Linked DNA regions of Homo sapiens: regions 1, 2, 3, 4, 5 and 7 are each linked to region 6. The links are contacts of gene promoters, found by promoter capture Hi-C in blood cells and fetal thymus (Javierre and others, 2016). All regions are on one chromosome and are shown on one strand. The core of a region is centred on a gene start or on the middle of the fragment in contact, and the rest is flanking DNA. Distances in the headings are between cores, read along the strand shown. Region 1 overlaps ABCA1 (ATP binding cassette subfamily A member 1). Region 2 holds the start of ABCA1 (ATP binding cassette subfamily A member 1). Region 3 overlaps LOC107987105 (a long non-coding RNA gene). Region 4 overlaps ABCA1 (ATP binding cassette subfamily A member 1). Region 5 has its middle 28 kb from the start of CT70. Region 6 holds the start of TMEM38B (transmembrane protein 38B). Region 7 holds the start of NIPSNAP3B (nipsnap homolog 3B).

The links. The method cuts DNA at HindIII sites, captures the fragments that hold promoters and counts their contacts. A CHiCAGO score of 5 or more calls a contact.
Region 1: a fragment that was not itself captured here is called in contact with the fragment with the promoter of TMEM38B in region 6 in 1 of 17 cell types (total B cells); the score reaches 6.0 in total B cells.
Region 2: the fragment with the promoter of ABCA1 here is called in contact with the fragment with the promoter of TMEM38B in region 6 in 2 of 17 cell types (naive CD4 T cells and monocytes); the score reaches 6.8 in naive CD4 T cells.
Region 3: a contact is called between a fragment that was not itself captured here and the fragment with the promoter of TMEM38B in region 6, in 6 of 17 cell types (monocytes, naive CD8 T cells, total CD8 T cells and 3 more). The highest score is 10.2, in monocytes.
Region 4: a fragment that was not itself captured here is called in contact with the fragment with the promoter of TMEM38B in region 6 in 1 of 17 cell types (monocytes); the score reaches 8.4 in monocytes.
Region 5: a fragment that was not itself captured here is called in contact with the fragment with the promoter of TMEM38B in region 6 in 2 of 17 cell types (naive CD8 T cells and activated CD4 T cells); the score reaches 5.0 in naive CD8 T cells.
Region 7: a fragment that was not itself captured here is called in contact with the fragment with the promoter of TMEM38B in region 6 in 5 of 17 cell types (total B cells, activated CD4 T cells, naive CD4 T cells and 2 more); the score reaches 10.3 in total B cells.

The regions. Positions count from the first base shown.
Region 1 is chr9:104,857,648-104,861,426 of GRCh38, reverse strand. It overlaps ABCA1 (ATP binding cassette subfamily A member 1), which reads left to right. Exons shown (of 50, transcript NM_005502.4): 7 at 2,729-2,905. Among named protein-coding and RNA genes, the nearest start is that of ABCA1, 69 kb to the left of the region's middle. The HindIII fragment of the contact is 1,085 bases long and covers 945-2,029 here.
Region 2 is chr9:104,926,528-104,930,288 of GRCh38, reverse strand. ABCA1 (ATP binding cassette subfamily A member 1) reads left to right here and starts at 2,134. Exons shown (of 50, transcript NM_005502.4): 1 at 2,134-2,354. LOC105376196 (a long non-coding RNA gene) reads right to left here and starts at 3,500. Exons shown (of 3, transcript NR_188620.1): 1 at 2,379-3,500; 2 at 565-781. RefSeq lists silencers at 1,975-2,164, 3,501-3,740 and enhancers at 2,365-2,444, 2,765-2,824. The HindIII fragment of the contact is 9,744 bases long and covers 1-3,761 here.
Region 3 is chr9:104,739,545-104,743,130 of GRCh38, reverse strand. All of the region lies in intron 1 of LOC107987105 (a long non-coding RNA gene), which reads left to right. Among named protein-coding and RNA genes, the nearest start is that of NIPSNAP3A, 6.3 kb to the left of the region's middle. The HindIII fragment of the contact is 814 bases long and covers 1,282-2,095 here.
Region 4 is chr9:104,780,958-104,784,604 of GRCh38, reverse strand. ABCA1 (ATP binding cassette subfamily A member 1) reads left to right here. Exons shown (of 50, transcript NM_005502.4): 50 at 150-3,599. The coding sequence ends at 290. It also overlaps a transcript of NIPSNAP3B not described here. Among named protein-coding and RNA genes, the nearest start is that of NIPSNAP3B, 19 kb to the right of the region's middle. The HindIII fragment of the contact is 6,350 bases long and covers 1-3,647 here.
Region 5 is chr9:104,961,683-104,965,435 of GRCh38, reverse strand. No RefSeq gene overlaps it. Among named protein-coding and RNA genes, the nearest start is that of CT70, 28 kb to the left of the region's middle. The HindIII fragment of the contact is 1,716 bases long and covers 1,510-3,225 here.
Region 6 is chr9:105,692,675-105,696,594 of GRCh38, reverse strand. It overlaps TMEM38B (transmembrane protein 38B), which reads right to left and starts at 2,054. Exons shown (of 6, transcript NM_018112.3): 1 at 1,823-2,054. The coding sequence starts at 1,934. RefSeq lists a silencer at 1,951-2,220. The HindIII fragment of the contact is 6,405 bases long and covers 1-3,920 here.
Region 7 is chr9:104,760,643-104,764,358 of GRCh38, reverse strand. NIPSNAP3B (nipsnap homolog 3B) reads right to left here and starts at 230. Exons shown (of 6, transcript NM_018376.4): 1 at 59-230. The coding sequence starts at 118. RefSeq lists silencers at 1-104, 302-501. The HindIII fragment of the contact is 717 bases long and covers 1,756-2,472 here.

The DNA of each region.
Region 1 (3,779 bases), core at 238-2,737, 830 kb after region 6:
TTGTGATGATTTCCTCCTACAAGGGATACATTTTAAGTTGAGTTAAACTTAAAAAATATTCACAGTTCTGAGGCAATAACCGTGGTTAAGGGTTATTGATCTGGAGGAGCTCTGTCTAAAAAATTGAGGACAGGAGACTTTAGACAAGGGTGTATTTGGAGACTTTTAAGAATTTTATAAAATAAGGGCTGGACGCAGTGGCACTGAGTTGAGAACTGTTGCTTGCTTTGCATTAAATAGGAGATCAGTCCCTGCAGCTTGTGGGAATAAGGCTTTAAATCTCTCCAATTTTAGCTCTGTGAGATGGCACTGGGGAAACAGAAATGAACGGACTAGTGTCACAAAGCTCAGGTGGGATGGACGAGATCACTTCAAAGGTCTGTAATCCCACGTCTATAATCCCAGCACTTTGGGAGGCCAAGGCGGGAAAATCACTTGAGGTCAGGAGTTCGAGACCATCCTGGCCAACATGGCAAAGCCTGTCTCTACTAAAAATATGAAAATTAGCTCAGCGTGGTGGCATGCTCCTGTAGTCCCAGCTACTCGTGAGGCTGAGACAGGAGAATCGTTTGAACCTGGGAGGCGGAGGTTGCAGTGAGCCAATATCACGCCATTGCACTCCAGCCTGGCTGACAGAGTGAGACTCCATCTCAAAAAAAAAAAAAAAAAAAGAATTTTATAAAATCAGGAAATAATATTAGTGTTTATGTTGAATTTTAACTTTAGAATCATAGAAAACTTCCTCTGGCATCATTATTAGACAGCTCTTGTGCAGTGGGTAGCACCAGACCCAGCTTGCATGGTTATTGATTTTTCAGAGACACTTTTTGAGCTTATTCTCTGGCAGAAAGGGGAACTGCTTCCTCCCCTATCTCGTGTCTGCATACTAGCTTGTCTTTACAAGAAGCAGAAGTAGTGGAAATGTTTATTCTTGAAAATAAGCTTTTTGCTTCACATGATCTAGAATTTTTAAAATTAGAAAAATGTGCTTACTGCGTGCCCTTCTGAAACTAGGAAAATATGCCTTGTGTTTACCAATTGTGTGGTTAGGAGATGGGCCAAAGGCATCAGGCTTTTGAAAGTAGTTGCATTTAGCATAATTTCCATTGCCCCCTGCCAATTTCATATCTGTCACATCTAATCAGTTTAAAATAAGGGGCATCCTAAGCATGGAGATGGTCCTTGGATGGTCCTTGGAGTTTCTGTATTTTCAGTATTCTTTTTTTTGAGCATACAAGACATTTATTGAAAAATTCTTGGGATCAATACTTGTGTAAGGAAAGGAAAGGGAACAAAGCATGATTGGGCAGAGGCAGAAGATGACATCAACAAAGGCCCTCCGTTGTCAGTATTCTTTTTTTTTTTTTTTTTTTGAGTTGGAGTCTCGCTCTGTCACCCAGGCTGGAGTGCAGTGGCGTGATCTCAGCTCACTACAACCTCTGCCTCCCAGGTTCAAGTGATTCTCTGCTTCAGCCTCCTGAGTAGCTGGGATTACAGGCATGCACCACCACACCTGGCTAATTGTTGTATTTTTAGTAGAGACGGGGTTTCACCATGTTGGTTGGCCAGACTGGTCTTGAACTCCTGACCTCAGGTGATCCGTCTGCCTTGGCCTCCCAAAGTGTTGGAATTACAGACATGACCCACTGCACCCGGCCTGTTGTCAGTATTCTTAAACATAGACACTAACTGTAGGCTGACAGCCTAGCAGCAAGGACCAGTTAAAGAAATGAGTAGAACTGAAGTGTGCTTGAGTATCTCTGGCAGTCAGCAAAAACTTAATGGGAATCATGGTAGGCCAAATGTTCTGCAGTATTTCAAAAGCTGCATGGGTTTTGAGAGGCTTTTGGTCCATCACTCACCTTAGGTTGTTCTACAAGCACATCAGCCTGCCCCAATTTAAACAGGGCAGTTAGTAATGGTGTAATAAAGAGTCTGCATTGTTCATTCCTTCAACAAATACTGGCTATAATGTTTCAGCACTGTGGATGCAAAGTGAGCAGGATAAACAGGCTCTTCTTTCAAAGCTTGTGGTCCACTGGACCACGTATGAAGTAGAATAGTTTAGGTCCAGAAAGGCAATTAAGTAAAATATGACCAAGAAGAGGCTCTCTAGTGGGTTTGGTATAAAGAAAAGATAAGAATGATTTAGAATTGGCCTATCAATGAGATAAGAGGCCTGGCTTTCTGGCACTCTGCTCTAGGGCAAGTAAAATGGAGAATTCCAAATTCTGAAATTGTTAGAACATAGTTCTGTGTCTTAGTTAAATATCTACACTTACAGATAAATAGCATAAATGCTTTCTCCCCATATTTCAGCCCAGTCCTACTTAAAGACAACATAAATTGCAAAATAGTGAGGATGTTGTTCATCTAATAAAAGTGGTTCCAGGAATTCAGACTCTGGATTCCTGTTTGCCAAATCATGTGTCCCACTCTTAAGAAAACGAGTTGGACTCTGGATTTTTCTTTGCAAGAGGGACAAGAGTGTGGGAGATACTGAGTTAATGCAACTTGCAGGTTTTAAGTGTCCTGTCATTGTGCCTTGTGCTTTGATACATTCTGAGTTTCAGTAAAGAGACCTGATGCATTGGACTGTTGCAATGGAACCTGTTTTAAGATCTTCAAAGCTGTATTGATATGAAGTTCTCCAAAAGACTTCAAGGACCCAGCTTCCAATCTTCATAATCCTCTTGTGCTTGTCTCTCTTTGCATGAAATGCTTCCAGGTATTTTTGCAAGGCTACCAGTTACATTTGACAAGTCTGTGCAATGGATCAAAATCAGAAGAGATGATTCAACTTGGTGACCAAGAAGTTTCTGAGCTTTGTGGCCTACCAAGGGAGAAACTGGCTGCAGCAGAGCGAGTACTTCGTTCCAACATGGACATCCTGAAGCCAATCCTGGTGAGTAGACTTGCTCACTGGAGAAACTTCAAGCACTAATGCTTTCGGAATGTGAGGCTTTTCCTTGGACAGCATGACTTTGTTTTGTAGAAAAGTACGGCTGGCTGGGAGTTTGTGATATAATTTAGTTCAGTGGTATTCTAAGTGTTCTTAGTGTTCTTTCAGACTTTTGGGCCATCTCCCAAAGGGTGAATGGGAAGAATAAGCTGGGTGTGGCTGAGTTTAAGCCAAAAGTTTTTTGTGCTTGTTTCAATCAGAGAAGACCTGCTTTTTCATGTTTTTACTATTATAATACTAAGCAAGAGCTCATTTGAAAACAGAGTTCTTCATATTTAAAAAAAAAAAGTCTTGAAACCATTGATGGGAAGATGGATATCTATTTATGTTTAAAAACCCATCATAAAGATGACATTGTGGGCTGTCACAGTTGGAAGGCCCTGGAATTAGATGAGACCACACTATTTAGCTTACTTAGTAATAACATTGCAAAGAAAAATTCCGACGAAGTTTTTTCAGCCTAGGAATCAATAGTTCAGAGAAGCACTCTATGAGAATACCCATTCATTCTTAACCAAAAAATACTGGTGAGCCTGAGCAGTTTGGTCATCAGAGTGTTTTATATAGTTCCAGAACAAATATGTCTCTAGGTGTTCTGAGAGCTCTGGTGAAATTCCTCTCGCTACCCCAAACATCATCATTTAATATCCAGGATTCTGGTTTTCTACTCACCAGATAGATTCTCTTAAAACCAGGGAAAGATTCCTGGAGGAAGGATGTATCTGGAAAGAGATGTTCCTTATTATAATAAAATGAAATTGTAATACTCTTGGATTTTGTGCAGCACGAATTCTTTATAGAGAGTTGGTCCTCCCAG
Region 2 (3,761 bases), core at 885-3,384, 770 kb after region 6:
AAAAAAAGATGAAAAAAGAAAAAAACAAGATGAAACAGAGGCAGAAAGACTTTACGTAAATTGCTCATCATGTGGTTGTCAAGTTTGACCCCAAAACCCAATTTATTGACCAAGGTTATTCTTTGACTGAGGCAAGGGGGTCCGCTCTCCTGGGCCTTGGGCTTTAGAAAGCTCATCTCTGGCCTTTCTGAGATCCATCCCTTTCTTTTTATTTTTCTTGACACGGAGTCTTGCTCTGTCACTCAGGCTGGAGTGCAGTGGCATGATCTCGACTCACTGTAACCTCTGCCTCCCGGGTTCAAGCGATTCTCCTGCCTCAGCCTCCTGAGATAACAGGCGCTCGCCACCACATCTGGCTAATTTTTGTATTTTTAGTAAAGACTGGGTTTCATCATGTTGGCCAGGTTGGTTTCGAACTCCTGACCTGAGGTGAGCTGCCCACCTTGGCCTCCCAAAGTGCTGGGATTACAGGCATGAGCCACTGCGCCCAGCTCAGATCCATCCCTTTCTAAGGGCAAACAGTCCATGGTGCAAAGGGGCCATGCCACCCAGAGTTATGAGTACCTGGGACTCCAGAATTCCTTGCCTGGTGGCCTCCACATGCACTTCCAGGGCCTGCTTGGGCCTCTTCTATGGGTCTGTCCTGAGTGTTGATAGAACCACTGATGTGAGTACCTGGGCTTGAGCCGTGGCCTGGAGATCCTGTTGACTGTAGCATGGAGGGGGCTTGTGCAGCTGAATGTCTGTATGCAGGTGGTGGGAGTTCTGGAATATGATGGAGCTGGAGGTGGGAAGAGAAGTAGGCTTGGGGCAGCTCTCTCATGCCACCTCATTCTGGCCAAAACTCAGGTCAAACTGTGAAGAGTCTAAATGTGAATCTGCCCTTCAAGGTGGCTACAAAGGTATCTTTGTCAAGGTAGGAGACCTTGTGGCCTCCACGTGCACTTCCAGGGCCTGCTTGGGCCTCTTCTACGGGTCTGTCCTGAGTCTTCTATGAATCTGCCCTTCAGGGCAGATTCATATTTAGACTCTTCACAGTTTGACCTGAGTTTTGGCCAGAATAAGGTGACATTTAGTTTGTTGGCTTGATGGATGACTTAAATATTTAGACATATGGTGTGTAGGCCTGCATTCCTACTCTTGCCTTTTTTTTTGCCCCTCCAGTGTTTTGGGTAGTTTTGCTCCCCTACAGCCAAAGGCAAACAGATAAGTTGGAGGTCTGGAGTGGCTACATAATTTTACACGACTGCAATTCTCTGGCTGCACTTCACAAATGTATACAAACTAAATACAAGTCCTGTGTTTTTATCACAGGGAGGCTGATCAATATAATGAAATTAAAAGGGGGCTGGTCCATATTGTTCTGTGTTTTTGTTTGTTTGTTTCTTTTTTTGTTTTTGTGGCCTCCTTCCTCTCAATTTATGAAGAGAAGCAGTAAGATGTTCCTCTCGGGTCCTCTGAGGGACCTGGGGAGCTCAGGCTGGGAATCTCCAAGGCAGTAGGTCGCCTATCAAAAATCAAAGTCCAGGTTTGTGGGGGGAAAACAAAAGCAGCCCATTACCCAGAGGACTGTCCGCCTTCCCCTCACCCCAGCCTAGGCCTTTGAAAGGAAACAAAAGACAAGACAAAATGATTGGCGTCCTGAGGGAGATTCAGCCTAGAGCTCTCTCTCCCCCAATCCCTCCCTCCGGCTGAGGAAACTAACAAAGGAAAAAAAAATTGCGGAAAGCAGGATTTAGAGGAAGCAAATTCCACTGGTGCCCTTGGCTGCCGGGAACGTGGACTAGAGAGTCTGCGGCGCAGCCCCGAGCCCAGCGCTTCCCGCGCGTCTTAGGCCGGCGGGCCCGGGCGGGGGAAGGGGACGCAGACCGCGGACCCTAAGACACCTGCTGTACCCTCCACCCCCACCCCACCCACCTCCCCCCAACTCCCTAGATGTGTCGTGGGCGGCTGAACGTCGCCCGTTTAAGGGGCGGGCCCCGGCTCCACGTGCTTTCTGCTGAGTGACTGAACTACATAAACAGAGGCCGGGAACGGGGCGGGGAGGAGGGAGAGCACAGGCTTTGACCGATAGTAACCTCTGCGCTCGGTGCAGCCGAATCTATAAAAGGAACTAGTCCCGGCAAAAACCCCGTAATTGCGAGCGAGAGTGAGTGGGGCCGGGACCCGCAGAGCCGAGCCGACCCTTCTCTCCCGGGCTGCGGCAGGGCAGGGCGGGGAGCTCCGCGCACCAACAGAGCCGGTTCTCAGGGCGCTTTGCTCCTTGTTTTTTCCCCGGTTCTGTTTTCTCCCCTTCTCCGGAAGGCTTGTCAAGGGGTAGGAGAAAGAGACGCAAACACAAAAGTGGAAAACAGGTAAGAGGCTCTCCAGTGACTTACTTGGGCGTTATTGTTTTGTTTCGAGGCCAAGGAGGCTTCGGGAAGTGCTCGGTTTCGGGGACTTTGATCCGGAGCCCCACATCCCCACCACTTGCAACTCAGATGGGACCGGAGGCGGTGTTAAATGGGGAGACGATGTCCTAGTACGAGCTCTGGTGACCCCAGGACTCTGCGCTGCTGCGCTTGGGGCTTGCCCGACGGTGGAGACCGGGGAGCATCTCTGGGCGTGGAGACCCGGGCGCAGTACCCCGGGCTCAGAGGGGTCGGGGGTTCCCGGGCGTGCTGAGGGCGCTGCTGCCGGGTGGGGAGAGCTGCAGGTCCGGCACCGAGCGCTGCTTTGTTCGGAGGGCCCTGAGCTGGCTAGAAACCCTTCTGGTTGCAGGTCGGCCAGTACCTACGGAGACAAATGCCAGCACTGAGTCTTCACTCGGTTCTTAAGAAGCTGGTCTGTTCTGACCTGGGAATTGGCTATATGCTCCCCGGGACTGGAGCGGCACAGTCCCGGACTGTGAATCCGGGAACTCGAGTTGGAGGTGTCCCAAACGGTCCGTGGTGCTATTGCTCACTAGAGGCCTTGGGTCTTTGTTTGACCTGAGGGGTAGGGAGGTCCTGCCTACAGTCTCCGTGCGCTCAGCTGAGCTGGTGTCCCTGGCGCAGAGCGCGGACGAGTTTTGTTTCCTTTTCTTTTTCTTTTTTTTCTTTCCTTTAAGTCTCGGTCTGTCGCCCAGGCTGGAGTGCAATGGAACGATCTCCGCTCACTGCAACCTCCGCCTCCCGGGTTCAAGCGATTCTCCTGCCTCAGCCTCCTGAGTAGCTGGGATTACAGGCGCGTCACCACATCCAGCTAATTTTTGTATTTTTAGTAGAGACGGGGTTTCAACTTGTTGGCCAGGCTGGTCTCGAACCCTCGACCTCAGGTGATCCACCGGCCTCGGCCTCCCCAAGTGCTGGGATTATAGGCGTGAGCCACCGCGCGCGGCCGAGTTTTGTTTCTTTTAAAAACAAGACTTAGGAGAGCCTGCGGAGACCCGGAGGTGGGGTGCCCAATCCTCCCTCTCCCACGTTCCCTGCAGCCCCATCTTCCAGACCGTTGCTGCTGGTCTCTCGGGGCAGCTTCTGCCTGGGCGCAGATGGGGAAGCTGGGCCGAGGTGGTGCCGTGGAATGACCGGGAGTAACCCCGGCGGGCGGCGCAGAACTCGGAGCTCCGCCGCGGGGCTGGGCTGGGCTCTGCCGTGAGGGTGGGGGTGCTGGGCGCGCGGGCTGCGGTGGCCCCCGGAGACTGGCCCGCAGCGCCTCCTGGCCGGAGGACCTAGGAATCGGCCGGCTCTACTAGGTGTCTTTGCTCGCGGTTCCGACTGTGAATCCGGTGAAGACCGGTGGTT
Region 3 (3,586 bases), core at 439-2,938, 950 kb after region 6:
TTTAAGTATACTAGAAATGTATTTAATTTTTTTCTATTAATGAAGTATTTTTATTTCTAAAACACATAAACATGTTTATATATCCATTACCTCTTTTTAGATATAAAAATTGACTTTTACGTTTTCCATTGGAAAATGAATTTTAGTGCTAATGACATTTTAAATCCTGATATCAGTGAATACAATTATTTCCCAAAATAGGCTTTGCAAATCTTTCGCTCTGAATAATCCCTGTGCCTCACAACTGGAGTCGGGGAGAAATTTTATTAGACAAATATTTCTGAACCTTTTGCTATTTGTTTCAGATTTTTCTTATTAAATATGGCTCGTTTTTTTTTTTACTAGGTGTTTAAGTCGAGATATCTTCTAGCTTTAAGCACTTACACACTTTGTTAGTACATATTTTTTTTCATTAAGTTCCCCTTCCAAATGAACACTCATTATTCGATGCTCGCCAGTGTTTTCTTTACCTCCACAAGTTGTCCCAGGTACCTACTAGCTGGGTAATTGATTAACTTTCTAATCTGAGTTAGATTTACTTGACTCTCATTGATTGTTTTTATAGCATCTTTAAGTTTGTTGTATTTTATTTATTCTCAATGTTGTATTGAGAGCTAGAACTTTAATGCAAGGGGCAAGTAGGCTGTGTCCAACCAAAAGGGGCCTATTGCCTCTTTTGGTCTTTATTAGGTGTTTCACGATACTGCCTAGGATTTTCGACACATTCTTTCTGAACTAAGTTCAAATGCCTCACTATCGCTTTTGAAGGTTAACAGAAATAGTTTATGGGAAATTAGAACTTCTCAGATTAATATTCCCTCTGAAAAACATTCTAAGTTGTCTTTTCATGATAGCTTAATAGTGCTATTAGAAGTTGCCTTCATATCCAAAATTATTTTCTTCTCATATAAAGATACTGAGTATTAAAAAAATACATTTCCCGCCGGGCGCGGTGGCTCACGCCTTTAATCCCAGCACCTTGGGAGGCCGAGACAGGCGGATCACGAGGTTAGGAGATCGAGACCATCCTGGCTAACACGGTGAAACCCCGTCTCTACTAAAAATACAAAAAATTAGCCGGGCATGGTGGCAGGTGCCTGTAGTCCCAGCTACTCCGGAGGCTGAGGCAGGAGAATGGCGTGCACCCGGGAGGCGGAGCTTGCAATGAGCCGAGATGAGGCCACTGTACTCCAGCCTGGGCGACAGAGCGAGACTCCGTCTCAAAAAAAAAAAAAAAAAAAGTTTCCCAATTTTCATACTCCCTTGGAGTCATCTGAAGCTTCCACTTAGCACAAAATAAAAACTGGGAAGAAAGTTAATAAAAGTCATAACTTTAGAGGGTACTTCAGTATAAGTCCTGTTTCATATTATTTTTTATTAAAAATCAGTTGGTCTTGCCAGGTGCTGTGGCTCACGCCTGTAATCCCAGCACTTTGGGAGGCAGACTGGCAGATCACTTGAGGTCAGGAGTTCAAGACTAGCCTGGCCAACATGGTGAAACCTTGTGTCTCCACTAAAAATACAAAAATTAGCCAGGTGTGGTGGCAGGCACCTGTAATCCCAGCTACTTGGGAGGCTGAAGCAGGAGAAGTGCTTGAACCCAGGAGGTGGAGGTTGCAGTGGCCCAAGTATGCACCACTGCACTCCAGCCTGGGTGAGAGTTTCAAAAACAAACAAAAACATTTGGTCCTTTGCCTCTTTGTTGTTTTTTGTTTGTTTTCTCTTCTTTGTTTTTGGAATGAAGCATATTTGTTAATTTATATTACTAAAGTCTCCTTTATAATTACCTGTTTATTGAGAACTGAACCCTCTTTGGTTAGTTCTCATACCTACTTGGCTGCCCTTTCATTTTTTAAAGGTTTTAAGAAATATTTACTTAATCTCAGATCACTTGTTCGGTTCTCATCCCTTTTTTTCTCAGAGAATGTCAGTGATGCCTATTTACCGACAAGGGGTCATCAGATTTTATTATTTCTGATATTTCTTACATGCTGTTATGTAGTATACCTTTTACTTAAGTCCTTTCTTACTTTCATTTCACTCTGTAAAGCTGATATTTACATTTTAGACTAAAACACACAGCAAAGAGGAAGCTTAAAGAAGTTAGGTGGTTTGCCAAAGGTAACAAAATAAGCCATTTAGAGCTGGTTGGCTCATTTTAATTGCTCTCTTACAATCCAATATTTGAGCATATTGTAACTTTGTTCCTCTTTCTCTTTTGATACTTAAATATTCCCAGGTTTATAAATAATGCTTCAATGAGTAATTTTGTAGATATGTCCTTAGGCACATCCCTGTAAGTGGAATTAATGAGTCAACTTTACAATTTTTGGTTCACCATAGCCATTTATGCTCCCAGGCAGTGAATCGTATTTCCTCTTCCTGCACATTCTTGCAATTCTTGTAAGACTTTAATATTTGCATATCTTATGGATGAAAAATGTTTCATTGATTTCATTTATATTGCTCTGATTTCTTGTGAATTGAGAATCTTTTCATAATTTTATAGGCCATGTTGTTTTTCTTTTGTTGAGGTCCCTGTTTATATTCTTGGCCCAATTTTTTATTTTGTTGTTCATCTTTTTCATATTGATTTGAATGTTGCAATCCTGTCCCCTCAGCCTCGCAAGGTGTGGCTGGGATTAGAGGTGCACAACCATGCCTGGCTTGGTTTGAATGCTTTAAAAAATATATATATATATTCCGGCCGGGCGTGGTGGCTCATGCCTGTAATCCCATCACCCAAAAGTGATGGGAGGCCGAGACAGGTGGATCATGAGGTCAGGAGGTCAAGACCAGCCTGGCCAAGATGCTGAAACCCTGTCTCTACTAAAAATACAAAAAAATTAGCTGGGCATGGTGGCACATGCCTGTAATCCCAGCTACTTGGGAGGCTGAGGCAGGAGAATCGCTTGAACCCTGGGCGGCAGAGGTTGCAGTGAGCAGAGATTGTGCCACTGCACTCCAGCCTGGGCGACAGAGCAAGACTCCATCTCAAAACAAACAAAACAAAAACTTCCAGACTAATCTTTTTTTTGGATGTATGTTTTACTGATATGTTCTCCCATTTGTAGCTATTATTTAAACTTTCTAAGAGTATTTTGCCATATAGGTGTTTCTAAATTTAAATTATTGGTCTCATGTTTTTGTGCTTTTCCCCCTATTTAAGGTATACTTTCTTTTTCCTTGTGCATGATGATATTCTTGTATATTTTCCTGTAGATATTTTTACAGTTTTGCTTTTGCCCTTTAGGTATTTAATCTCTCTCAAGTTTATTTTAGTCACAGTATGAGGTGTAGATTTAATTTGATCTTTTTTTCAATATTAGTAGTCCATTACCAAAGAACAGTTTATTAAATAGTTCATTTGTTCCCTACCGATTTGTAATGCCATTATAAATCAAAGACCATTCACTTGGGATATAAACTTCCACAGATGCCTAGGCTATTTCTGGATCCTTCTAATCTGTTCCATTGATTAATTTGTCTTTACCTGTATCAGTACTAAGCAATTTGAATTACTGTAGCTTTATTATCCATCTTGACATTTTGTATAGTAAATATACATTTCTTATTATAACATTGT
Region 4 (3,647 bases), core at 1,142-3,641, 910 kb after region 6:
TCCTTCACACACAGTTTTCTAGTTAATCCATTTATGTAATTCTGTATGCTCCTACTTGACCTAATTTCAACATCTGGAAAAATAGAACTAGAATAAAGAATGAGCAAGTTGAGTGGTATTTATAAAGGTCCATCTTAATCTTTTAACAGGTATTTGTGAACTTTGCCAAGGACCAAAGTGATGATGACCACTTAAAAGACCTCTCATTACACAAAAACCAGACAGTAGTGGACGTTGCAGTTCTCACATCTTTTCTACAGGATGAGAAAGTGAAAGAAAGCTATGTATGAAGAATCCTGTTCATACGGGGTGGCTGAAAGTAAAGAGGAACTAGACTTTCCTTTGCACCATGTGAAGTGTTGTGGAGAAAAGAGCCAGAAGTTGATGTGGGAAGAAGTAAACTGGATACTGTACTGATACTATTCAATGCAATGCAATTCAATGCAATGAAAACAAAATTCCATTACAGGGGCAGTGCCTTTGTAGCCTATGTCTTGTATGGCTCTCAAGTGAAAGACTTGAATTTAGTTTTTTACCTATACCTATGTGAAACTCTATTATGGAACCCAATGGACATATGGGTTTGAACTCACACTTTTTTTTTTTTTTTTGTTCCTGTGTATTCTCATTGGGGTTGCAACAATAATTCATCAAGTAATCATGGCCAGCGATTATTGATCAAAATCAAAAGGTAATGCACATCCTCATTCACTAAGCCATGCCATGCCCAGGAGACTGGTTTCCCGGTGACACATCCATTGCTGGCAATGAGTGTGCCAGAGTTATTAGTGCCAAGTTTTTCAGAAAGTTTGAAGCACCATGGTGTGTCATGCTCACTTTTGTGAAAGCTGCTCTGCTCAGAGTCTATCAACATTGAATATCAGTTGACAGAATGGTGCCATGCGTGGCTAACATCCTGCTTTGATTCCCTCTGATAAGCTGTTCTGGTGGCAGTAACATGCAACAAAAATGTGGGTGTCTCCAGGCACGGGAAACTTGGTTCCATTGTTATATTGTCCTATGCTTCGAGCCATGGGTCTACAGGGTCATCCTTATGAGACTCTTAAATATACTTAGATCCTGGTAAGAGGCAAAGAATCAACAGCCAAACTGCTGGGGCTGCAAGCTGCTGAAGCCAGGGCATGGGATTAAAGAGATTGTGCGTTCAAACCTAGGGAAGCCTGTGCCCATTTGTCCTGACTGTCTGCTAACATGGTACACTGCATCTCAAGATGTTTATCTGACACAAGTGTATTATTTCTGGCTTTTTGAATTAATCTAGAAAATGAAAAGATGGAGTTGTATTTTGACAAAAATGTTTGTACTTTTTAATGTTATTTGGAATTTTAAGTTCTATCAGTGACTTCTGAATCCTTAGAATGGCCTCTTTGTAGAACCCTGTGGTATAGAGGAGTATGGCCACTGCCCCACTATTTTTATTTTCTTATGTAAGTTTGCATATCAGTCATGACTAGTGCCTAGAAAGCAATGTGATGGTCAGGATCTCATGACATTATATTTGAGTTTCTTTCAGATCATTTAGGATACTCTTAATCTCACTTCATCAATCAAATATTTTTTGAGTGTATGCTGTAGCTGAAAGAGTATGTACGTACGTATAAGACTAGAGAGATATTAAGTCTCAGTACACTTCCTGTGCCATGTTATTCAGCTCACTGGTTTACAAATATAGGTTGTCTTGTGGTTGTAGGAGCCCACTGTAACAATACTGGGCAGCCTTTTTTTTTTTTTTTTTAATTGCAACAATGCAAAAGCCAAGAAAGTATAAGGGTCACAAGTCTAAACAATGAATTCTTCAACAGGGAAAACAGCTAGCTTGAAAACTTGCTGAAAAACACAACTTGTGTTTATGGCATTTAGTACCTTCAAATAATTGGCTTTGCAGATATTGGATACCCCATTAAATCTGACAGTCTCAAATTTTTCATCTCTTCAATCACTAGTCAAGAAAAATATAAAAACAACAAATACTTCCATATGGAGCATTTTTCAGAGTTTTCTAACCCAGTCTTATTTTTCTAGTCAGTAAACATTTGTAAAAATACTGTTTCACTAATACTTACTGTTAACTGTCTTGAGAGAAAAGAAAAATATGAGAGAACTATTGTTTGGGGAAGTTCAAGTGATCTTTCAATATCATTACTAACTTCTTCCACTTTTTCCAGAATTTGAATATTAACGCTAAAGGTGTAAGACTTCAGATTTCAAATTAATCTTTCTATATTTTTTAAATTTACAGAATATTATATAACCCACTGCTGAAAAAGAAAAAAATGATTGTTTTAGAAGTTAAAGTCAATATTGATTTTAAATATAAGTAATGAAGGCATATTTCCAATAACTAGTGATATGGCATCGTTGCATTTTACAGTATCTTCAAAAATACAGAATTTATAGAATAATTTCTCCTCATTTAATATTTTTCAAAATCAAAGTTATGGTTTCCTCATTTTACTAAAATCGTATTCTAATTCTTCATTATAGTAAATCTATGAGCAACTCCTTACTTCGGTTCCTCTGATTTCAAGGCCATATTTTAAAAAATCAAAAGGCACTGTGAACTATTTTGAAGAAAACACAACATTTTAATACAGATTGAAAGGACCTCTTCTGAAGCTAGAAACAATCTATAGTTATACATCTTCATTAATACTGTGTTACCTTTTAAAATAGTAATTTTTTACATTTTCCTGTGTAAACCTAATTGTGGTAGAAATTTTTACCAACTCTATACTCAATCAAGCAAAATTTCTGTATATTCCCTGTGGAATGTACCTATGTGAGTTTCAGAAATTCTCAAAATACGTGTTCAAAAATTTCTGCTTTTGCATCTTTGGGACACCTCAGAAAACTTATTAACAACTGTGAATATGAGAAATACAGAAGAAAATAATAAGCCCTCTATACATAAATGCCCAGCACAATTCATTGTTAAAAAACAACCAAACCTCACACTACTGTATTTCATTATCTGTACTGAAAGCAAATGCTTTGTGACTATTAAATGTTGCACATCATTCATTCACTGTATAGTAATCATTGACTAAAGCCATTTGTCTGTGTTTTCTTCTTGTGGTTGTATATATCAGGTAAAATATTTTCCAAAGAGCCATGTGTCATGTAATACTGAACCACTTTGATATTGAGACATTAATTTGTACCCTTGTTATTATCTACTAGTAATAATGTAATACTGTAGAAATATTGCTCTAATTCTTTTCAAAATTGTTGCATCCCCCTTAGAATGTTTCTATTTCCATAAGGATTTAGGTATGCTATTATCCCTTCTTATACCCTAAGATGAAGCTGTTTTTGTGCTCTTTGTTCATCATTGGCCCTCATTCCAAGCACTTTACGCTGTCTGTAATGGGATCTATTTTTGCACTGGAATATCTGAGAATTGCAAAACTAGACAAAAGTTTCACAACAGATTTCTAAGTTAAATCATTTTCATTAAAAGGAAAAAAGAAAAAAAATTTTGTATGTCAATAACTTTATATGAAGTATTAAAATGCATATTTCTATGTTGTAATATAATGAGTCACAAAATAAAGCTGTGACAGTTCTGTTGGTCTACAGAAATTTACTTTTGTGCATTTGTGGCACCACCTACTGTTGAAGGGTTA
Region 5 (3,753 bases), core at 1,118-3,617, 730 kb after region 6:
AAGAGAGACAAAGGATTAGTGTTCAGAACATTTAACATTATATACATCAATAAGACAAAGACAAGTGATACATTTTAATGATACAATATCAAATGAAAAAAGACATAATTTGGCAATTCCTGGAAGAGGAACTTTGAATGGCTAATGTGAGAAGATTTTTATCCTCACTGGTAATCATGGAAAAATACTAATTAAAACAACAAAAAATTGTTTCACACTTATTTGATTGGAAACATTTAAAAGAACAATAATATCAAGTTTTGTCAGCCAGGTGTGGTGACTCAGGCCTGAATCCCAGCTTTGGGAGGCTGAGGTGGAAGGATGACTTGAGGCTAGGAGTTCAAGAACAGCCTGGGCAACATAGAGAGACCCCAACTCCACAAAGAGAAATTTTTTTTTTTTTTTTGAGACGGAGTCTCGCTCTGTCGCCCAGGCTGGAGTGCAGTGGCGGGATCTCGGCTCACTGCAAGCTCCGCCTCCTGGGTTCACGCCATTCTCCTGCCTCAGCCTCCCAAGTAGCTGGGACTACAGGCGCCCGCCACTACGCCCGGCTAATTTTTTGTATTTTTAGTAGAGACGGGGTTTCACCGTTTTAGCCGGGATGGTCTCGATCTCCTGACCTCGTGATCCGCCCGCCTCGGCCTCCCAAAGTGCTGGGATTACAGGCGTGAGCCACCGCGCCCGGCCGAGAAATTTTTATATATGTAATGTTAAAGATGTTGAGCCACAGAAAATCTCATCTACTATTGATGTTAATGTAACTTGATTCTGTTTGGCAATATCATAAAAGTCAAGATTACAAAGCAAGTTCACTCTGGGCATACATTCTAGAGAAGCTCTTGTATATATGCATAAAAGGACATGTCAAAAATATTCATGACATTCATGATGATGAGAGCCAAAAATAGAAAACAATATAAAATGTCCCTTAAGAGAAGAATGGATAGTTGATTACTTCATTCACTGGAATATTACAAAGCAAATGAAATTACTTATTTTATTTTGTTTTTTGAGATGGAGTCTCACTCTGTGGCCCAGGCTGCAGTGCAGTGGCATGATCTCAGCTCACTGCAACCTCCACCTCCCAGGTTCAAGCAATTTTCCTGCCTCAGCCTCCCGAGTAGCTGGGATTACAGGCGTCTGCCATCATGCCCGGCTAATTTTTTGTATTTTTAGTAGAGATGGGGTTTCACCATGTTGGCCAGGCTGGTCTTGAACTCCTGACCTCAAGTGATCCACCCGCCTCGGCCTCCCAAAGTGTAGGGATTACAGGTGTGAGCCACTGCGCCCGGCTACTTGCAAATGAAATTACAAAGAAAATGAATATTATAAAGAAAATGAGTAACTGCATTATCAACATGTATAAATCTCAGAAACATAATTTGTGCAAGAGCAAGTTACAGAATGATGTCTACAGTGTCAGTATGATACCACATATAAAGTTTGGAACATACAAAAGAATACTAGTTATTGATTATGGACACTTTTATGTAGAAAATATAAAAAGCTTGTATGGGATTAATAAACACCAAATTCAGGGGAAAGGAAGGAAATAAAATTGGAAGGAACTTCAAACATGTCTGTAACATTTTATTTCTTTATTTCTTGAAATTGTCCATCAAAAAGAAAAAAAAGGAAGGAAAAGACGGACCAGTTTGGGGAACTGAAGTTACACTTACATTTTCTTTCTTTCTTTTTTTTTTAAGATGGAGTTTCTCTCTTGTTGCCCAGGCTGGAGTACAATGGCACTATCTCAGCTCACTGCAACCTCCACCTCCTGGGTTCAAGCAATTCTCCTGCTCCTACTCAGCCTCCCGAGTAACTGGGATTACAGGCATTGTGCCACCACGCCTGGCTAATTTTGAATTTTTAGTAGAGACGGGGTTTCTCCATGTTGCTCAGGCTGGTCTCGAACTCTCAACCTCAGGTGATCTGCCTGCCTCAGCCTCCCAAAGTGCCGAGATTATAGGCGTGAGTCACCGCACCCAGCCACACTTAACATTTTCAAATAACTTTCTGAGTTTATCTTATAATTCAATCCTATGAGCCATCACTCACTATAGGATCTCCTTGGCACTGAGAACTAAAGCAGGTAGGATCTTGCTGACAGCCATCTGCGCAGCTTTGTGTCTCCACATTCCTGCAACACAGTGGGACTAGTGGAGACAACATGGTTAGCTGACACTAACTGTCCTAAATTTGGCCAAAAAATTCTTACTCTAGGAGTGGAGCAGGTGCAGGCTGAGGGCATGGCTTTCTACTACAGGTCTATGGTGAATGCAGAGAGAAGGTGCAATTGTAAGCACTAAACACATCTCTCCATTCGCGTCTTCAAATCAAAACGCCAGATTAATCTATTGGAATTATATATACCAGTGAGTTGGCAGGTGAGCCAAATTCTTACACGAGAGTCTCTTCTCTCCCTTGCAATCAGTTTTCAGTTTTAGAAAAGATGTTTTTTGTACCTTTTTTAAAGGATTGAAACAGCAAGAGATCCACCTGCAGAGAACATATTGTATTTTGCTATATTAAAGCTATTTAACTGAAAATCCAGTTCTGCTGAAAAGTTTTAACCCTTGTTTTCTTATTATTTTAGTAACACATTGTCACTATAATAATTGGCTATTGAAAAATGTGTCTTTTTTTTTTTTCGTAACAAGAACACATAGGACTTGTTTTCTGGTTTCCACCTTCGACTTTATACCTTGAATCACAAGTCCTCCTGGGTTCTCAATAATGTGTATGAGAATGCCTTTCCATTTATCAGCAAACAAGACTTATTAATTAGGAACCCACATTTGCACACTACTCTACTGAGCACCTAATGAGTAGGTTTTATTTTATTTTATTTTATTTTACTTTATTTTATTTTATTTTATTTGAGACCGAGTCTCTCTCTGCCGCCCAGGCTGGAGTGCAGTGGTGTGATCTCGGCTCACTGCAGCCTCCACCTTCCAGGTTCAAGCAATTCTCCTGCCTGAGCCTCCTGAGTAGCTGGGACTACAGGTGCATGCCTCCACGCCCGGCTAATTTTTTGTATTTTTAGTAGGGACGGGGTTTCAACGTGTTGCCCAGGTTGGTCTTGAACTCCTGAGCTCAGGCAATCTGCCCACCTTGGCCTCCCAAAGTGCTAGGATTACAGGCGTGAGCCATCACGCCCAGCCTATGAGTAGGTTTTAAAAAAGACACCATCTTTACCTGATAGAGCCTAGAGTTGTATAAGCTTTTCAGTCTTCCTCTTTGGCCATACTGTTTTTGCTAATCGTTTTATAACCTTTAAATTGTTGGAACTGTTTGAGGCCAGGACTATAACCCCGTTCATGCCTTGGCTGAAGGTGGTAGGAAAGAGTTTCTCTGTCTTTAAGGAAAGCCTGCTTAGCTTTTGGCCATGGGCAATTGACTTTTCACCTTCTCAGCTGGTTTACACACAAGATTCTCTGTGAGGCAAAAAGCCAGATACAGCCTATTTCAATTGCCTCACACCCGGAGAAGGGAAAAGTGGTCCATCTTTACACCATGGTGTAGAGCTGCAGCAAACAGAAAATCTTCAAGGCAGTGTCAGCAGCTAATAACATCCACCCACACACACTTGAATTCACTTTATGGGGCTTACTCCCATATGAAGTAACGCCAAAAAACATTGACCTGTATAAACATGATCAAGTTCTATTATCATACCACTGGAATAAACAGCAGCAGTTTAGAAAAAAAAAAAGTTCTTAGTTAACAGAACTATGATCAACATACTTTTAT
Region 6 (3,920 bases), core at 805-3,304:
CATAGACCTGTCCACTATGCAACAATTGTTCTTCATGTTTTCATTTTTTAAAAAGTAAATGTATTAAATGTTAACATAAATAATGTATTCTTCAAGCCTGGCCAACATGGCGAAACCCCGTCTCCACTACTAAAAATACAAAAATTAGCCGAACTTGGTGGCAGGCGCCTCCCAGCTACTCCGGAGGCTGAGGCAGGAGAATCGCTTAAACCCAGGAGGCACAGGTTGCAGCACTGAGCCGAGATCGCGCCACTGCACTTCAGCCTGGGCGACAGAGAGACTCCGTCTCAAAAATAATAATAATAATAATGATAATGTATTCTTTATGAAAAATAACTTTTCCAAAACAAAAAACATTTAGTGAGAAGAATCACACTGTGTACATTCTAACAAATGTCTGGCTTCAAATAGAAAACTGTTAGATTCTCATATCTACTTCCTTCTGTTACAGTATCACAACTCAGGTAGCCTCTGGAAAACTCCACTGTACACTTCTGAAAAAATGAGAGTGAAAAAGATAACATCTGCATATTATTACGAAAGTAATTTTAAACTGGCAGTGTCAGAGAATCCCATGGGTCCCTGGACCACAATGTGAACATCTGATTCAGCCTATACAAAAAAAAATTTTTTTAATCAAATTCTGAACATGTAGTAGCAACAAAACTTACTTTTTTCAAATCAAAGAAATAATATCTTATGCAGATAATGTGTTCTACTTTAATGCAGTAATACCATCCTCATCCAGGTCAAAATTTGTACCAACGATTTAAACTGAGCTACAAACTTCAACATAAATGAAAAATATTTCTGAGGTCTAAGGATTTTTTAAAACCAGTAAGTAGTCCATAAGAAAGATACAGCATCATCCTCCAGACCTCACTCATCAACTATCCGTAGGGCAAGGCAGATGAAAGACAGCAAGAACACAAAGAAAGTAGGCAAAGAAATGTCTGACCTCAAAGAAAGAAGAGGTCCATACAACTAAAAGCACAGTAGAATAACTACAAAAGTAAAGCAGTATTAGAGCAAACGCACCCTGGTGTAAAATCCAATAAAATACAACTACTGTCCCTTGATCGCATTGCTAAAAGAACTCAAAATGCTGTTTCAAGACTATATCCCCATTCTGCAGATAGTGAAACTACGCCAGGTAACTCTTGCTTGTACAGTGTCCGTCGTGACTGTGAAAAGGGGAACGCACTCGCTTCTCACATGCTAGGCAGGGTGTTAGGACACTGCGTGAAGGGGAATCCTGGTCTGGCTACAGGAGGCTTTTTGTTTCAGTGCTTGTACAACTTTCATAACTGGAGAGTAGTCCGCAACCATCTATTACTCCAAGAGACTGAGTCAGAAACCTGCTGTCTCCTCACATGACTTTCAAACACTGCGAGCGAGTGGCGACACTGCGAGCGAGTGGCGACACTGCGAGCGAGTGGCGGTACCGCGAGGAGGCCGCCCAAGCCCTGGGCTGGCGCGGATATCTGTGGTTCCGAAACGCTGCGGCAGCTTCTGTCAGTCCTGGGACTTCTGCGGGCGGTTGGCAAGGTCGGCCCTGCTCGCCCAGGCTACGGCCTCGCGGACCCCAGGTCACGCCTCCTTTGAGGAGTACTAGAGCCTCCGTCCTCCCCCACGCTGTTTCCCCATCTGCACTCAGTAAGTCAGACCAACCGGCCCTTGGCGCCCCTCCAACTCTACCATCGAACTGTCTGGGCTAGCGGCCACTCAGCCGCCCACCCGACCCACCCGACCCACCCGACTTAGACGGTCCTCGCCGTCAGGAGCACTCTGAGGGGTCCGGCCCGCGGCGCCCCGCACTCACCCGGCTGACGTTTCACCGCCATCACTGACACTAGATAGTGCGCGATGTCAAAAAAGGGAAACATGGACGTGCGGGAGAAGGCCAGAGCCAACTCGTCCCATGGAGAATCCATAACGACCACCGACCGCGGCAACCGAAGCAGCCGCGGCTACTGGTTCCCCGCGCTCGCGCGGTGAGGAGTAGGAGAGGGCACAGCCGCGGCCGCCCGCTCCTCCGCGCCGGCTCCAGCTCCGCGCGTGCGCCCTGGCGCCGAGGGGGCGGGGCCGCGCTTCGCGGGAGCCGCAGGCTCACCGGCGCTAGGCGGGTGGGCGGGGCGAGCGGGTTCCCCGCGGCTCCAGCCGGCTCTTGCCTCGGTTCTCCTAGTAAGGGTCCAGCGTCTTCTTGGTCCTGGGCGCAGTGCAGGACCTGGAGAGCGTGCAGATGAACAAAACACGGTCCTCAAGGGGAGACGCTCAGAGTTGGATTTATTTCTGTAAATTGATGTCATTCACCTAACATTTATCGAGCAACCACAGTGCAAGTCACACTGTGACTTACTGGAGATATAAAAATAAAACAATAATATCCTGACCTCAAGAACTATGCGTTCCCTGAAAGAGATTTTTTATAAAAAGAGAAAAAACGCACATAATGGTACAAAAGCAGGTACTGAGAAGTATAGCTGCCGTGCGAGAGCAGTTCGAAACGAAGATTACAATTCTGGGAAGTGAGTAAAGTGACATGTGAGCTGGACTTTAAAAGTTAAGTGAGAAACACAAGCTAGGTGGGAGATGGAGGGAGGTGTTTTGGGTTGACTACAAAGTGAGAAATGAGGTTGGGAAAAGTCCTCGAATGGCAGACAAAGCCAGGCAGTTTGGCTCCAGAGGTTAAATTCTTGATCAATCACTATGTTAAGCTCAGAGCCAGAATCTCTTCTCCTAATCTCTACGCTAACTGGGTTGTTTGGTGGAAGGTGAGGGAGTAGAGGTGCAACGAAGCAACAAGATTAAGAATAGATTGATGAGAAGCGACTGACAACGGAAAATCAGAGGGTATTCACTGGTCCAAGCAAAAGGTAGTGGAGGCTGTGGCAGCAGAAATTGAGACCAATTGTGGGAAACATGGGTAGAAGCAGAATATCGTCAGTGAGTGTCAGTCTGTACAGGCGGGAAAGGAAGCATTTGTCAAATAAAATGAGGAACGGGTGAGTAGGAGGATTGTGGTTGCATTCTGATAAATAGGAAACAAGAAGGAATAGGTTTGGGTAAGAAAAAAAACTAGCTTGGCACACTTATTTGATGTGTGAACAGATTATGCTGGCACCAGGAAATTGGAGAAACGTGATTAGCTGCTAGGTAGGTGACAGCTTCACGGGTGTATGCACTGCAAAAGGAGAATTTTTTTTATCTGAATATGTATTCATTAATTTTAATTCATTTAACAAAATGTTTTTTGCGTGCCTACTATGTAACCAGCATTTTGCTGGATGTCAGAAATACTGCCCTAAACACTAAGTGTTTAAAACGTAGGAAAATTGTAGTAAATCTCTACACTTCATTACTTATCAAGAAAGAATAGACTTGTTCAAATACTTTTCACGTGTGGTTTTCTAAGCAAGCACTTCCCGTAGAGAAAAGTCTTTAGACCTGTAGCACACTTTCTAGCAAAACTAAGGGGAAAAAAACCACCTGTGAATATTTATACTTTCCTGTTTAAGTCTGTTCTTTCCATACTTTTTACACATTCGCTTATTTTTGGAATTTTAGTTTTGCGAATTTAGGCTCAGAGTTTGGATATTACTTCTTTTTTTTCTTTTCTTGTTTTTTTTTTTTTTTTTTTTTTTTTTTTTTGATATGTAATCTTGCTCTGTTGCCAGACGAGTGCAGTGGCGCGATCTCGGCTCACTGCAACCCCCAACTCGCTGATTCAAGCGATTCTCCTGCCTCAGCCTCCCGAGTAGCTGGGATTAAAGGCACGTGCCACCACGTTTTTTTTGTATTTTTAGTACAGACGGGGTTTCACCATGTTGGCCAGGATGGTTTGGAACTCCTGACCTCATGATCCGCCCGCCTTGGCCTCCCAAAGTGCTGGGATTACAGGCGTGAGCCACTCACACCCA
Region 7 (3,716 bases), core at 865-3,364, 930 kb after region 6:
CCCCCCGCCCCTCCCCTCCCCTCCGGCCAGGGCTCGGGCGCGCCCCCGCGGCCAGTACCTGAGGCGCGAGCGTCCGTGAGGCAAGCGCCTTGGTCAGGCCGCTTCTGAGAACGAGCATGGCGCGGCTTCGGCACTGAGAAAAGCAGCCAGCCGAGTCCTTTGTGAGACTTCTCTGAAGTCTTCCCGAGTGGAAAAAAGCGGCTCCTGGACCACTGGCGAACTCAGGCAGGGGCGGGACTCGGCGGGGTCAGCTCCACCCCGGCGCGGGAGGCGCGACAGGTCCCGCAGTTGGCGTCTTTCTCTTCGGCGCTGAGCCTCGGTCCCCCTTGGTTTCCTGAAACGTTCTTGCCCCAGACGTTAGAGGTGACAGAATTAGCTGAAGGCTGGGATCGTTCCTGCCCCACCTTTCTGGGCCCTGACCTCATTCGCTCCGATGCGCAGTTGTGTAGATTCGTAAATGTGCGGCGGTTGTGCTTGTGTTGCCCCTGGAGAAGGAAGGGGAGGTGTTCAGCGTGTGCATGTGCAGTGCTTTGCATTTAAAGTCGAGATGTTGACAGGGTTAACTTGTTTCTTTGTTTGAGACGTAGTCTTGCTCTGTCGCCCAGGCTGGAGTGCACTGGCGCGATGTCGCCTCACTGCAAGCTCCGCCTCCCGGGTTCACGCCATTCTCCTGCTTCAGCCTCCCCAGTAGCTGGGACTACAGGCGCCCGCCACCACGCCCCGCTAATTTTTGTATTTTTTAGTAGAGACGGAGTTTCACCATATTGGCCAGGCTGGGACAGGGTTAACTTTTACAGGTTGTGATAGACGTGTATTTGTAGACCAGTGAGCCTTCGCTTTTCTGCATTATCTGTCCCCATTGCCACCCCACTGTGATCTTGGAAGGCTCCTAATAAAGATTTAATTTTCCATGAGCTCAGTGGAATAGCAGCACCGAGCCTGATAGGAAAAAGTCGAAGTTAAACATAGATAGTTTGAAACTAGATCGTTCTGTAAGCCTTAAGAGCAAAACAGCCGACCTCTGGTCTAGTCCTCCCAGTCCCAGAGTACTGGTCCCCAGACTAACCACCTTCAACATTTTAAGCTGTTCTTCTAATACCTGTTTCCGTATGTTTTTTATTTTTTTGAGACAGAGTCTTGCTCTGTCGCTCAGGCTGGGGTGCAGTGGCATGATCTTGGCTCACTGCAACCTCCGCCTCCCGGTTTCAAGAGATTCTCCTGCCTCAGCCTCCTGAGTAGCTGGAATTACAGGCGCACGCCACGACACCTGGCTAATTTTTCTATTTTTAGTAGAGACGGCGTTTCACCATGTTGGGCAGGCTGGTCTTGAACTCCTGACCTCAGGTGATCCTCTCGGCTCAGCCTCCCTAAGTGCTGGGATTACAGGCACGAGCCACTGCGCCTGGCCCGTATTTTTAAATAATAGTCATTTTCTGCTATTTCTTGCATTTTCAGTTATGGAGAGTATGTGTTGCCTTCCTTCTGTGGCAGATGAGGATTTAGGTCTCACAGAAGCCACTCCCCCGGGGGCTTATCATTTGTGTTGAGAACATTCAATATCCTCCTAGCAATTTGAAACTATATATTATTAACTATAGTTATCCTGAAGTGGTATAGAGCACTAGAACTTATTCCTCCTATCTAGCTATAATTTTGTTTAACAAATCTCTCCCATCCTTGTCTTCCTCCTAATCTTTCCCATCCTCTAGAATCCTGTTATACTTTTTATTTCTGAAATCAACTTTTTTTAAAGCTTATACATTAATGAGAACATGTGGTGTGCAACTTTCTCTTGTTGGCATATTTCACTTAACATAATATCCACCAGTTCCAGCCATGTTGCTGTGAAGGACAGGATTTCATTCCTTTTTACTGCTGAATAGTATTCCATTGTGTATATATAACATACTTTCTTTATCCATTAATCTTGCTGGACACCTAGGCTGATTCTGTATCTTGGCTATTGTGAACAGTGCTGCAATAAACATGGGGGAGGGAAGATGTCTTTCTGATATACTGATTTCTTTTCCTTTGGATAATGCTCAGTAGTGGGTTATTTGTAGTTTCTTGAGGAAACTCCATAGTGTTCTCCATAGTAGTTCTAAGAGTTTACATTCCCAACAGTGTATACGATTTTCCTTTTCTCTGCATCCTCATCAGCTTTGTTTTTTGACTTTTTGATAATAGCCTAACTGGGGTGAGATAATACCTCACTTCCCTGATGATGAGTGATGTTGAACATTTTTCATGTATTTGTGAGCTATTTGTATGTCTCCTTTGGAGAAATGTCTGTTCAGATCATTTGCCCATTCTTAAATTGATTTGTTTGGTTTTTATTGCTGGTGAGATGTTTGAGTTTCTTGTATATTCTGGATATGAATCCCTGTCAGATGAATAGTTTGCAATTATTTTTTCCCATTCTATAGGTGGTTTTTTCACTCTGTTGATTTTTTCATTTGCTGTGCAGAAGCTTTTTAGTTTGACATAATCTATTTTTGCTTTTGTTGTCTGTGCTTTTGAAATCTTATTCATAAAACTTTTTCCCAGACAATGTCCGGAAGCATTTCCCTTATATTTTCTTCTAGTACTTTTAGTTTCAGGTCTTACACTTAGCTCTTTGACCCATTGAACTGAATTTTTGTATAGAGTGAGAGGTGGGGGTCTAGTTTCACTCTTCTGCATATTGATATCCAGTTTTCCTGGCACTATTTATTGAAGAGACTGTCTTTTCCCCAGTGTATGTTCTTGGCACCTTTGTCAAAAACCAGTTGGCTGTAGATGTATGGATTAATTTCTGGGTTATATATTCTGTTCCATTGGTCTGTTTCTGTTTCTATCCCAGTACCATGTTGTTTTGGTTACTATAGCTTATAGTATATTTTGAAGGCTGGTAGTGTGATGCCTCTAGCTTTGTTCTTTTTGCTTAGGACTGCTAAAAGCAAATTCTTGATAAAGAAATAGACCTATTCTTTATAAGATATTAAATAACAATATCTAATGGTAGGTGTAAGAGGTATAATAATTTTGAAGTAGTGATGAAGGTAAAATAAATTTTCTGTATTTGCAACAACTATAAATAGAATTTGACAGTATCTGTGATTTTTACTGACTAAAAAGTTGCAGGTCCTGCTAATAATATTGTGGTTTGTTGCCTACCTTCACAAACAAAGGAAATGCTTAGAAGTTGGTGCCAATAAAGATGGAACTTTTACCTATCCAAGTTATCAGACTCTGAATTCTATCCTTCAGGATTTGTGTACTAGAGGTTACAAACCACTACTCTAGAGTATATAATTAGGAATGGAATTGCTGGGTCATAAGTTATGTATATATTCATCTTTATTAAATCGTGCCAAACTGTTCTATAAATGTATATTCTTAATAGCAGTGTATGAGGTTTTCCTGACCAATTTCTTATTATTGCCCATCTGATCTGATGAGTGTGAAGATGCATTTTTACACCTCTCATAACAAATAAGTATTAGCTGAAGGATGGTGGGAATTACAAGAAGTGGGCAAAGGGAACAATCTACTTGATGATGTTCTTGCATGTTTTTTTTTTTTTTTAAAGGTCAGGCTCATGCAAAAGCAGGAGAGGTGTATCCAGTGCTGGCCCAACTGGGTAGGAGGACAGCAGTTGTACATGTAAACTCTAGATGCTTAAATTTCCTGAGTGAAAACTTTCCAAATAAACATTGAGATGGAAGACTCTTAGA